2 separate regions of the Homo sapiens genome follow, and region 1 is linked to region 2. The links are contacts of gene promoters, found by promoter capture Hi-C in human tissues and cell types (Jung and others, 2019). All regions are on one chromosome and are shown on one strand. Each heading gives the region's core, a stretch centred on a gene start or on the middle of the fragment in contact. The rest is flanking DNA. Distances are from core to core; before and after follow the strand shown. Region 1 overlaps FHAD1 (forkhead associated phosphopeptide binding domain 1). Region 2 holds the start of TMEM51 (transmembrane protein 51).

Region 1 (5,964 bases), core at 3,158-5,657, 160 kb before region 2:
GAAGGCAGACCTGTTCCAAGGTCAACGGGGAAGGGAAATGGGGACACAAGTAACCCAAATGCACTTCGTGGGCAGAAGAGCTCCGGAGCTGCTGTTTCTCCGTATTTCTCCCACCTAACATCAGCTCTACAGCCCCGACACACATCCACACACCCCACACACCCCACACGCACCCCCATACCACACCACACCCACACATCCACACGCCCCCTCACCCACTCACCTACACACATCCACACCCCCACACACCCATTCACCCCCACACCACACATCCATACCCCCACACACCCATACACCCCCACACACCACACTCACACACACACCTACCCATATCCACACACACCCATACACACTTACACACATCCACATCCCCACACACCCATTCACCCCCACACCACACATCCATACCCCCACACACCCACATACATCCTCACACCCACACCCACATACCCACACACCTGAAAGGGCGACAACACATGTAATCCAGGCGGTGACCCTGCTCGGGGGACGGATGCAGAGGGCTGGGCGAGGCGGGCTAACCAGCCGCAGAGGCGGAAGCGCACAATGCAAACCGGCCTCTCACTTCTCAAAACTGATTTTGTTGTTCCCATTTCGCTGATGACAAAGGGGAGGCCACATCAGTTATAACAAAAGCCCACTCTGGGCTCGGACCCTGGTCTGTGTGCCCCCGGGGCTCCTGTCCTGCCTTTCCCCAGCTCCAGTTGGGGCACTGCGGTCAGAGCCAGAGGTCACTACTGCTGCTTCATCCTTGGACCCCCAGATCCACCCTGCCTGGGTGCCCATGCAGACTTGGCGAACTCTTCAGGCACACCTGAGATGAAAGCTGTTAGGTTTTACCTTGACTCACCGAAACAGACACATCTCACAAATACTGAGAAATCCTATAGGTTCAGGATTCTAAAGTCAGAGCATTGAGGTACATTTTGCAAATAGTTATTATTATTATTATTATTATTATTATTATTATTATTATTTGAGACGGAGTTTCACTCTTGTTGCCCAGGCTGGAGTGCAATGGCGCGATCTCAGCTCACTGCAATTTCTGCCTCCCAGGTTCAAGCTATTCTCCTGCCTCAGCCTCCTGAGTAGCTGGGATTACAGGCGCCTGGCTAATTTTTGTTATTTTTAGCAGAGACAGATTTTCACCATGTTGGCCAGGCTGGCCTCAAACTCCTGATCTCGTGTGATCCACCAGCCTCGGCCTCCCAAAAGTGCTGGGATTACAGGCATTAGCCACCGTGCCTGGCCTCAAAATTACTTTTAAACAGCTCTTGACTTGCCTACCAGGTTCACTCCACACAGAATATTCTTACCCACACTAAAGTCTAAGGGAAGAAATGAAAGTCTGTCTAACTGCACTTGGGCCTGCAAACATTCTGCTTCGAAGGTGACTGTGCAAACCAGTGGTTACTGGGATGAGGGGAAGCCCACCGTGTCCTCTTTTGCATGCAGTGATTCTATTCTGCTTTAATATTAAGCCTTGCCATGGAAATAGCCAAGCTGAGAGGTGCATTTACTGCTGGAATTAACCAAACTCATTTATAATGGGCATTAGAAAATGTTTCCTGGAGTTGAAGCTACATCTTGCTTATTCTGGGGCACGTGCACGCCGATCTTTGAAAAGGTGCAAAGAATGTGGCCAGCTGTTTTAGTTTTTCTAGGTAGGCATTTCATGTTTTGCCCCCAACGCCCACCCCCCCACCACCCCGCCCCCAGCACAATGGTGTGAGAGGAAGGAATGAAATTTAAACTAAGGGCCCAGGGTGAATGAAACAAGCATATCACGTGACTTCACTTTAGCTGCTTTTCACCGGATGGCTACAAGGTGACGCAGTCATCCTTACTCACTCTAGAGCCAAGGGCTTCCAGCTGGTGGTCCTTGTCCTTGTTCTGACTTTTTAGGTGACTGACCTCTTCCTTTAGTTGTTGAACTTGCTCATCCTTTGCTAATATGTCTTTTTGCAAAGATGACACCATCCCTGTAAAAAAGAAGACTCGCAGAGGTCAAAGAGGCAGTGAGGATGACTGTCATCGCTGCCGCTGTCAACCAGTTTGTGACGAGCCTGGCACTGAGAAGGGAGGTGTCTCCAAGGATCCCAGGAGCTTGAATGGGGTTGAGACCAATATCCACTGCACATCATTTGTTCAAGGTCCCAGTGAGAAGGAGAGGTCAGTCAGTGCGTGTTGCTGGAGACAGGAAACATCTGTCGGGGTGCTGTGGGCATCGGCCCTGCCTGGGAACAAAGGCTCAGCAGAGAGAGGGACCAGGAGGGGCCACGACATGGGCCTGTGGCAGCAAGGGACGTGTTGATTCACACTCATCTGAGTTTGGAAACCGTCTCTAGCACTTACTAGCTCAGTCGTCTTTTTTCTTGAGACAGGGTCTTACTCTGTCACCCAGGCTGGAGTACAGTGGCACGATCATGGTTCACTACAGCCTCGACCTCCTGGACTCAGGCGATCCTCCTGCCTTGGCCTCCCAAGTAGCTAGGACTACAGGTACGTGCCACTATGCCTGGCTAATTTTTGTATTTTTTGTAGACATGGAGTTTTGCCCATGTTGCCCAGGCGGGTCTCAAACTCCCAGGCTGAAGCAATCCACCAGCCTCTGTCTCCCAAAGTGCTGGGATTACAGATGTGAGCCACAATGCCCAGCCTAGCTTAGTGGTCTGAAGAAGTTATTTAACCTCTCATTGTATCTACAGAGTTGTATAAAGAACATAGTAGAGTGGCTAACACATAGTGTTTATTCCCTGCCACCCACAAGTATATGTGGTAGCCAGCTTGCAAAATGGCCCCCATGATCCCTGCCTGTTAGAATACCTGGCCTCGTGTAGCCCCCTCCCACCTGAATAGGGCTGACGTGTGTAACTCATATGGCACTGTGGAAGTGGTGAATGTGACTTCCCAGGGTGAATCATCAAAGATGTTGTGGTTTCTTCTTTGCTCTCCTTGGATCACTCAGTCTGGGGAAAGCCAACCGCCATGTTGTGAGGACACTCAAGCAGCCCTAGGGAAGGACACACATGGTGAGGAACTGAGGCCTCCAGCCAACAGCCATGTGAGCGAGTCATTCCAGAAGGGGATCCTCGAGCCCTAGTCGGGCTTTAGATGACATGACAGCAGTAGCTCCTGCAACCTCGTGAGAGACCCTGAGCCAGACTAAGTCACTCCCAAGTTCCTGAACCACAGAAACCGGGTAAGATAAACATATTTGTTGCTTTTTTGGGATAACTTATGTGACAGCAGATAGTCAATATATTATTGTATTATCACATTGAGAAAAAGTGAGAAGAAGGGTGCATAATGCAGTGGTATTGGGTTATCTCATACGGTCCTTTTCTTAGAAAAACATTCATCCTAGTTTTATTGGTGGGTATCAATCAAGAATCAATCTTTATTGCACAATCAAGGATGTGTAATAAAGAACAACATGATTCAGAATTTCATTGTAAAAATGAGCTTCGTCCGGGGACACAGTTAAGTTCCTTAGAAACAGACTGCTCTCTCTGGGGCTTGCCTGCATGCTTTGTGAGGCGGGACCAGAGTGACCTTTTCTCTAGAATGAATTTGGCTTGAGTCTCTACCAGGTGCCCTGTGTAGTGCAAGGTTGCCCCATTCTGGATGGTGGGAAAGTGAGCTACTCTCAGGCCTACGTGGGCTTCGAGATGGTTCCCTCTGCTCCTCCTGGGTGGTTCCTTCCCTGCCCACATGCACGTGCTCATCACACCTGACTCTGCTGAAGACTTGAGGCGGACCCTCTGAGATCTCCGGGGTGCTCTCCGTGCAGCCCCCTCCCGCCTGGCACGCCACCCAGCAAACTCAAGCTGTGCTGGCTTCTCCACCTCCATCTCCTCAAGTCGGGCTGACCACTGGGCTCTGTCTGGCTTCCCCTCCCTGCTGTGGTCTGGAAACTCTCTCCAGCGCAAGCCAGCCGGGGGCAATCGTAGATTTCATCTTGTTTGTTTCCACTCCCTCCCAGATCATCGTCACATGCTTCTTGGGGCCAATAGATGGAAACCATTATTTCAGACATTTTTTTCTGTTTGTTTGGTTTTTGTTTGTTTGTTTGAGTTGTTTCAGGCAGGTGAGGAAATCCGCACCTTGTTCCTCCATCTGCCTCTCTTCCTGTGGAAGATGGGGTTTGTGATGTGTTGTGATGGCTTCTGTGAGCCTGGGTCACTGTGTGGCCACAATGACCAAAGCCCCTACTGACCCATGATGGGCTCAGGGTGGAAGCAGGAGCTGAACCTGTCTATTGTGAGCCACTGAGACTTGGGGGACTGTTTGTCACTGCAGCGTAACCCGGCCCAGTGCTTCTCGAGCTTAAGTGTGCACAAGCAGCAGCCGGGAGGCTTGTGAAAATGAAGATTCTGATCGGAAGGTCAGGAGTGGGGCCTGAAATTCCCAGTTTCTCACAAGGATCCAGGTGATGCTGATGCTGCTGGTCCAGGGACCACACTTGGGGCCGTGAGAGTGTAGCCCATCCCAGGCCATACCTGAGCCCAGGTCTGTCTGACTCCTTGATTAGAGGAGTGGTGTCTGAGACAGGCTTGTAGCGTGGATGGGGTGTGATGGACAGACGCTGGGGAGGAGGGCAGGGCCCAGCGAGATCCCCCTGGGATGCCTGGTGCCCAGAGCAGCCCTGCCCATAGGGCTCACAAGTATCCAAGAACATTCCATGTTAGGGAAGAACAGAGGTAGAAGCCTGGAGTGGGGAGGGGGACTGCAGAGTGAGGCAGAGGGAAAGCCACGGCCAGGCGGCCTGGGTCCTGCGGAGACAGCGATTGTGTCTGACTCAATGCTACGCTCTGCTTTCACAGCCACGGGCATGTTTCCTGCTGTGCAGGGGGGACTTTAGGAGCAATATGCCCAATCTGGACTCATTCCCTCTCCACCACCTGCTTTTCTCTCTTCCCCCTTTCTCTGTCCATGGCCCTATCATCTGCAGGTCTCGAGACATGCCATTCTCTGCCTTAAAAACCCTAACGTGTCCCATCACACTTAGAAGAAAACCTGAACCCCTCCCATGTAATGTGGCCCTGCCTCCCCCCTGACCCCACCAGGTCCCATAGCCCCTTGTTCCCTGACTCCAGCCACACTCGCCGGCAGTTGATCCAACACCGTGGCTTGGTCCAGCCTCGGGGCCTTTGCACCTGTGCTCTCTGCCCAGCATACCGTTCCCAGGGGCCTCCCGACAGCCCCTCCCACCTCCTCAGAGATATCCCTGCCCAGGCACTAAGCCAGGGATGTCCAATCTTTTGGCTTCCCTGAGCCACACTGGAAGAAGAAGAAGGGTCTTGGGCCACGCATAAAATACACTCACGCTAATAATAACTGATGAGCTAAAAAAAAAAATCGCTAAAAAAAAAAAATCTCATAATGTTTTAGGAAAGTTGAGGAATTTGTGTCGAGCCTCATTCAAAGCTGTCCTGGGCCATATGTGGCCCGCAGGTCGTGGGCTGGACAAGCTTGCACTAAGCTATTCTCCTTCACTTCACCCCCTGAGTGCTTCCCCACCACGGTGTCCAGCTTTATTTCCTCTGGAGCACTGATCTCTCTCTGGTATGGGCTTGTTCATTTATCTTTTTACTTCTTATTGTCTGTCATCCTCTCCCAAGTGTGAGCCCCATGAGCAGAGGGGCAGAGGGATCTTGACTGCTCAGGGCTCTCTCTCCCCAGTGCCTAGAACAGTGCCTGGCATCTAGCAGCTGCTCCATAAATGTGCTGAATGAATGAATGAATGAATGAATCCAGGCTAAGAAACAGCTGTGCCTGGCAAGGGTGGGCCATGAGTTGGCTGCCCCCTTGCCCACCCAAGTTCTTGAGTATCCAGCTACCTCTCAATTAGCAAAATGCTTTCGCTCCGGCCCAAGAGCACCAGTGTGAGATGGGTAAGAGGCTGGGTGCCTTAAACTGGCAACCCCATTTTAGCCACATTCT
Region 2 (6,677 bases), core at 565-3,064:
TCTAATACTCTTTTCTTAGCAGGACCTCCTGAGTTATTTCCTTTCTTCTGTTCTCGTCTAAGCCCTGTGACATAACTTACTATAGAATACTTCATGTGCTAGGCATAAATACCCCACCTCGCCCTTGGAGATCATCATCCCATTTTACAGATGAAGAAGCTGAGGCTCAGAGAGGTCAGGTCACACAGCCAGCAAGTGGTGTGGCCTGACTGTATCGCCAATTCTGCAACACTTTTCATGAGTATCCCTGACTCCCTCACTAGGCTGGGGGCTCCCTGAGGCTTCTGGGCTCTGGGTCACTGGGGCAGGCCCCAGACACCCCATCAGAGAGCTGTCAGCTCCGAAGCCGTGAGGAGCAGGTTCACCACTAGCCTCCTCTCTCTTTCTTTGGCCTTTTCTCCCAGTCTGGGGGTACCTCTCAATTGGTGGAGTGAGATATTTGGAGGGGCAGGGGCTCTGTCCCAATAGGTCAGGATCCTCTTGTGACAGGTTTCCGGGGTGTGAAAGCTGTTCACGGTCCCAGGGCCAACAGTTCCCTAGACAAGCTGTTCTCCGGGTAACCCATTCAAAAGGAAAGCCAGAAGCCGGCCGGTCCTAGAGGGGAAAGCCTTCCACCCGCTGACTTACCTCCCGGTTCGGGTCCCTGCCCCGCCCACCTCGTCCCCGCCCACCCCACTCCGGCAGCGCCCGGGTTCCCAGCAGCCAGACCTCCCCTGCTGTTGGGAAGGACCCGCAGTCCCATGCACCGTCACAGGCACCTCGGAGCGCTGCGCAGGACACCCCACGGGCTGCTCCCTGGGGAAACCGTGGGGGAGGGGCCAGGTCTCTCGCCCCCACCGCTGGTTGGGAAAGAGACCATTATCCTGTAATGCAGACCAGGCGCGCCGGGCCAAGCGCCTCCCGTTTGTGCGCTGATTTGAGATCTGATTTGTACTCTGCTCTCCCCTAGGCCCGGTAACGTAACTTACCGCTGAGTGCTTGCTGGGTGCTGGGCATGAATGCCCCGCCGCACCCTGGGACGTTGTCATGTCAGTTTCACAGATGAAGAAACCGACGCGCTCAGGGAAGGACTCGAGTTTCAATCCACTTTGCTCATGCCCGATTCTTTACCCCCGTGTTTGCTTGTAGAGCGACACACACACATACACACACACGAATCTAAATCCCTAAAAGGCCCCGACTTCCATACAGTAAGGGATGCGCGAGCAAAGCGCCAAGGTGGTTTCCTGGGACCTACTGGGAAGTTCTGCTCCTAACCACGCGCTGAAAGCGCTTCTGGCGAAGCCAAGGGTTCGAAGCCCGCCGGGCGGATAGCACCTGTTCCCGCCAACAGGGGGCCCCCAAGGCCAGCTGCCTTCCCCAGCCGAGGCCAGCTGGCCAGGCGCGGTGCCCGGGAGGCGGGAGCGTCCCGCGCCGGCGGGGCGCGGCCGCAGAGGGTGCGGGGTGCGGAGTCCTCCCGGTGGTCGACCCCAGGCGGGAAGCGCTCGGCGGACAGACGGACGGACAGGAGACCCAAACGGGCCTCGGCCCCCTTACACGGCCCTGTGGGGAACCGACAGCGCGCCGCGGGAAGCAGCGGGCGCAAGGCGCGGCGGCTGAGACTCACCCGGGAGGCGGCGGGTCCGGCTCCGTCTCGGCTGGGCGGTCCGGGACTGCGGGCTTCGCGACCCCCGCGCCCCACCCGGGCGGCCTCCTCGGTGGGCGCCGCGATCGCGGGGCTGGGGTTCGGGGGATTCTTAGCCGAGGGAACGCAGTGGTGGAGAGGGCGCACTGCCCTCTCAGGGACCGGGTTGGGGACGCAGGAAGCGCGGCCTGGGAGCGCCGGCGTGCGGGAGGGAGGGACCGCGGGAGGCGGAGGGCGGTGCCGGCCAGGAGCGGCCTCCAGCCCGGAGAAGCACCGCCCACCGGCCGACCCTCCCTCCCGGCCCTCGGCACCACCCCCGGGCCCGAGGCGAGGGATCGCAGCTGAGCGAGGCGGGCACCCACTCCCCAGCGTATGCCGCTGGAGCGCGCTGAGCGTGTGCCGGGGGCTGGGCCTAAGTTCTCCCCAACCCTTGCCAGCCGAGTTGGATAAGAGGGGGTCGGGAGAAAATAGAGCCCTGATCCCCCCTCCTCCCTAGGGCCCAGAGAATCGGTGTGCATGCGTGTGTGCGCGCACGCGCGTGTGTGTGACGGGTGGTGGTCGGGGAATGTCTCAAGCTAGAAGTCCCAGGTTTTAGGGGTTTAAGTGGAGCTGGGAGACCCGCTTTCCTCCCACACCAGGCGCAGACGCCGAGGCACAGCTCCGCCAGCCGCCCCGCCTTTACCTGGCGGGATACTCACCTCTCCTCCTTCCTGGGGAGGCCACCGCCTCCCTCTCCCCCTTCTGCCCTGGGCTGGTTCCCAGCGAGGTGAGTGACCGGCACAAGTAGGGAAGGAGGAAGCGAGTTTTTAAAAACTGAGTCAGCTCACGCCCTCGGCCAGGGTCCCCACCCGATGCGTGGTCCCCAGGGCGCCCTCGGGATCGCACGCCCGAGTCCCGGCCCAGGTGGGGCCCATTCCGGGTTCTTGCGCGCGGGCAATGGATGGGGGCGCGCTGCACCGGGAGCCTGCCCTGCTGAGGGCTCATCCCCAGCTTTGCCGAGAACTTTCCCGGCGAGGCACCGGCTGGCGTTTTCCCAGCCTGCGAGTGGCAGGCGGGCAGCCAGTCTCTGCTCGGATCCACGGAGGCCCGGAGCCGCCACGGAGTTCTGGCTCCGGGGAGTGCAAACCCGAAGTCGGCGCGGAAGCCTCTCACCCGCGGCTCTGCCTCCGCCCCTTGGAGATCTGCCCTCGGAACTGCGTTGCTCTGGCGCCCGAACTAGGGTGGGCTGGTTTCAGCCAGACCGCCAAAAAACGTGGATGCTAAACACAGAGGGAAGAGCCAGCTCCCATTCCCTCTCTGAGCCTTAGATTTTTTTGAATTCCGAGAGAGGTCAGGCCGGGGTCCCCTTCTTGGGTGAGCGTCCAGCCCTTTGAAGTTCAAACACTGAGAAGCCGATAGGCAGCTGGCTGGCGTCACAGGATCGAGCCGAGGACTGAAGGCGCCTCCTACCGGGAATCCACCGCCTCCAGACGAAAATAGGCTGCAATCAAGTTCACTTCCAAAGGCGGAATTCATGGGTACATATGGTGTCCACGTGTGTACACCTGCAGAGTTGTAACATGCGGGCATTTCTCCCCTCAGCCCGCCATTCTGGCTTCTTAACTTGCACCCTAACAGCTCGACAGAACCTTGGCGTCCACAAAAAGGCAAGTTTGGGTCTGCCTTATGATTTGGGGGTGGGAAGGCATTTGGGGAAACAGTCTCCATGTCTATGACAGCAACTGCTATTCCTCACATCCTTGCTATGAACCAGGGGCGGGGTTACCACCCACATCCCCTGAACCATCTCATTTAATCCTCATAACCTAGGAGGCGGTTATTTGTTATGCCCACTTTATAGAAGAGAAGGCTGAGGCTTAAGGAGGTGAGGTCATTTTGCCCAGTGAAAACACAGCTGGGAAGTATCAGGATCTAGACCCAAGATGATCCACTCCAGAGCTTCTGCTCTCCCTCCCATAGCATAATTCCTCCTGTCTGCACATACTCTCCACCCTGAGAGAATGTTCACCTTGCCTGGCCACCTGCAAATGCGGAATAAACATTTGTTGGATGAATGAAAGCCCTAAATAATAACCCATGATTTTAGTGAATAGGGAGGACCCTTTGTGTAGGCAGGTACCTATAATAATATGCTCCCATTTAAGAGCTGTGCGTATTCATCCCAAAGTTTAGACAATGCATGTGGGGACCTTCCCAGGCTCCAAAGGAGTGACAGGAAACAGTCACGTAGCTCTCAGATAAGACCAGGAATCTGGTTTTCATTTGACTCTGCAAGATGGACTTTGGAGAGGCCTGGGGTGGGGGCGGGGGGTGATCATGTCAGAACAGCTGTCCCAGCTCCTAATCTGAAGACAAAGAGCTGCTGTACTTTTCCATGCCAGGGTCATCCCAGACCCGCCCCACTCTGCTGCAGACTCAACTGGGCAGGTCTTGTTTATCACAGGATATCATCTTCAGAGTGTTCCATTTAAGCAGGCTCACCCTGGCTGATCTGGGGAGAGACTGACGAAATTCTCAGGCAAAGCTGAGGCCCAGGCAAAACTGAAGAAGCTACCAAAGGAAGCATGCCTCTCCTTATCCTCCTCTCCTCCACAGCCCTCTCCCTCTACATGGTTAGTTTCTCTGAATCTTCCCTACCATTTATTGAACCCTGTGTTTCACGTGCACTGCATACATTGTGTTCTTTGGTTTTCAAAACAGCCCTAGAAGGAAGATTCTATTATTCTAGTTTTTCAGATGAGGCTGTTAAGACTCAGAGAAGTTAGGTACCTGGATCTGCTAGCAAGTGACAAAGTATTTGAATCTGGGGTCTTTGCAGGGCCCTTGCTCTAAATCACTAAGCTAGGAACCCCCTTCTGTGATAGGCAGAATAATGGCTGCCCAAAGATGTTCACAACCTGATCCCCAGAACTGGTTACTTTACGTGGCAAAAGGGACTTTGCAGATGGGATCAAGTTAAAGATGTTGGGACGGGGAGGTTATCCTTGATTTTCCTGGTGGGTCCAATGTTGTCAAAAGGGTTCCTACAAGAGGGAAGCGGGAGGGTCAGAGTTAGAGAGGGAGATGTGGTGATAGAAGTAGAGATCAGAATGATACAGTTGCTGGACAAGGGTCAGTAGCCAAGGAATGTGGGCAGCCTCTAGGAGCTAGAAAAGGAAAGGAATGGAGTGTCAGCCAGAGCATCCAGAAGGAGCTCTTGGCATCCACAAAAAGGCAAGTTTGGGTCTGCCTTATGATTTGAAGGTGGGAAGGCATTTGCAGATCCGTTTTGGACATCTGACCTCCAGAACTGTAAGAAGATAGTTCACTGTGTTGTTCTAAGCCATGAAGTTTGGGTCAATTTGTCACAGCAGCGGGAGGAAACTAATACATCCTGCAAACTCAGTCACCTAGGCAGATGTTCACTTCACCTGCTTTTTTGGCTAACTGTCCACTGTAAACTTCTGAAGAGGCACCATGATCTAGCCTACATCACGGATTTAGAAAGAAGGCAGGATTCCATCACCTTTGTCTTTGGTTTCTGAATCCTCTGCTATTTGTGAGTTGTGTGACCCTGGGCAGATGTCTTGTCCTCTCTGAGCCTCAGTTTCCTCATGTGTCAAAAAAAAATTATTAGCATTTCTATGCTAATAATACCTATTTTCCAGGACCAACTCGGGGATCAGGTGAACTAGTATGTGACAAAGTACCCAGTGTGGCCTGAACATGAGTTGTGGGAGCATTAGCCTGTCTAGTTCTGAAAGCCTGAATTCAAAGAGGAGAGGATGCTGTTCTGAGAATTCCCGTGGCATTACATTTTTATTCTTTCTGGCTGAATGGGTAAATAACGACAGTTTTAAAATATTCGACTGTCCCTGGTTAGTGACCAAGACCCCAGTCTGTCATGCTACTGACTTTCCAGGCACATCAATGAAAGTGAGGCTGGAAAATCAGCTTATAGAAATAGATCATCATGCAGAACAACTCACACATGTGCTCAGGAACAGAACGTCCAAGGGTTTTCATTGCTGATTAATTGTAACGGTGAAAAGTGGTCACCAACCTCAATGCCCAGCACTAGGAGCTATGCTAAGTAAATTGTGGCATAGACTCATGCTGGCACACTATGAAGTCACCAGAAAGAATGAGGTAGAGCTATCTGACATGGAAGAACGTCCAAGTTATATCATTCACCGAGAAAGGCACTAAATATGATGATACTACACAAACCACTTTTTTTATTTTTTATTTTTTTGAGACAGAGTGTCTGTCACCTAGGCTGGAGTGCAGTGGTGCAGAGGTTGCACTACAACCTCTGACTTCTCGGTTCAAGCAATTTTCCTGCCTCAGCCTCTCGAGTAGCTGGGATTACAGGCGTACACCACCACGCCCAGCTAATTTTTTGTATTTTTAGTAGAGATGGGGTTTCACAATGTTGGCCAGGCTGGTCTTGAACTCCTGACCTCAAGTGATCTACCCGCCTCAGCCTCCCAAAGTGCTGGGATTACAGGCATGAGCCACCATGCCTGGCTCACAAATGACTTTTTAAAAAGATGTAGACACACATACATATATTTGATTATGTACAGAAAGACTATGGGAGGAATCAAACCAAACAGGTTACCCTTAGAAACTGAGGGGGGGTGTGTGTGTGTTGGGGAGGTAATTTTATTTTTTAGTGAGAATGTGTTAATAATAAAGTTGGCTGGAAACCACCTGTATTGTCCACCAGGAGCATATCCTCCTATTATCTGTCCCTGTATCCTCCCTTGCTTGCTCTGTTCTCTGCCATCTGTCATTCTTTACCCTTGCTTGGTTCTGAGCAGGTCACTCTCTCTTCCCACTGACTTTTTTTTTCAGACAGGATCTTTCTCTGTCACCCAGGCTGTGGTGCAATGGCATAATCTCTGCTTACTGCAGCCTCCACTTCCTGGACTCGAGTGATTCTTCCATCTCAGCCTCCTGAGTAGCTGGGACTACAGGCATGCACCACCACACCTGGCTAAGTTTTAAATTTTAAATTTTTTTGTAGAGATGGGGGTCTTGCTACGTTACCCAGGCTGGTCTCAAAATC

What was found. The method cuts DNA at HindIII sites, captures the fragments that hold promoters and counts their contacts. A contact is called where the count stands out against the background at its distance.
Region 1: a contact is called between a fragment that was not itself captured here and the fragment with the promoter of TMEM51 in region 2, in 1 of the 25 tissues and cell types used here (adrenal gland).

The regions. Positions count from the first base shown.
Region 1 is chr1:15,309,093-15,315,056 of GRCh38, reverse strand. It overlaps FHAD1 (forkhead associated phosphopeptide binding domain 1), which reads right to left. Exons shown (of 34, transcript NM_001391957.1): 8 at 1,870-2,000. Among named protein-coding and RNA genes, the nearest start is that of FHAD1-AS1, 32 kb to the left of the region's middle. The HindIII fragment of the contact is 6,121 bases long and covers 1,347-5,964 here.
Region 2 is chr1:15,148,884-15,155,560 of GRCh38, reverse strand. TMEM51 (transmembrane protein 51) reads right to left here and starts at 1,814. Exons shown (of 4, transcript NM_001136218.2): 1 at 1,607-1,814. TMEM51-AS1 (TMEM51 antisense RNA 1) reads left to right here and starts at 3,097. Exons shown (of 5, transcript NR_027136.1): 1 at 3,097-3,270. RefSeq lists enhancers at 309-970, 1,102-1,191, 971-1,632 and silencers at 1,342-1,521, 1,612-1,661, 1,722-1,991. The HindIII fragment of the contact is 16,508 bases long and covers 1-6,677 here.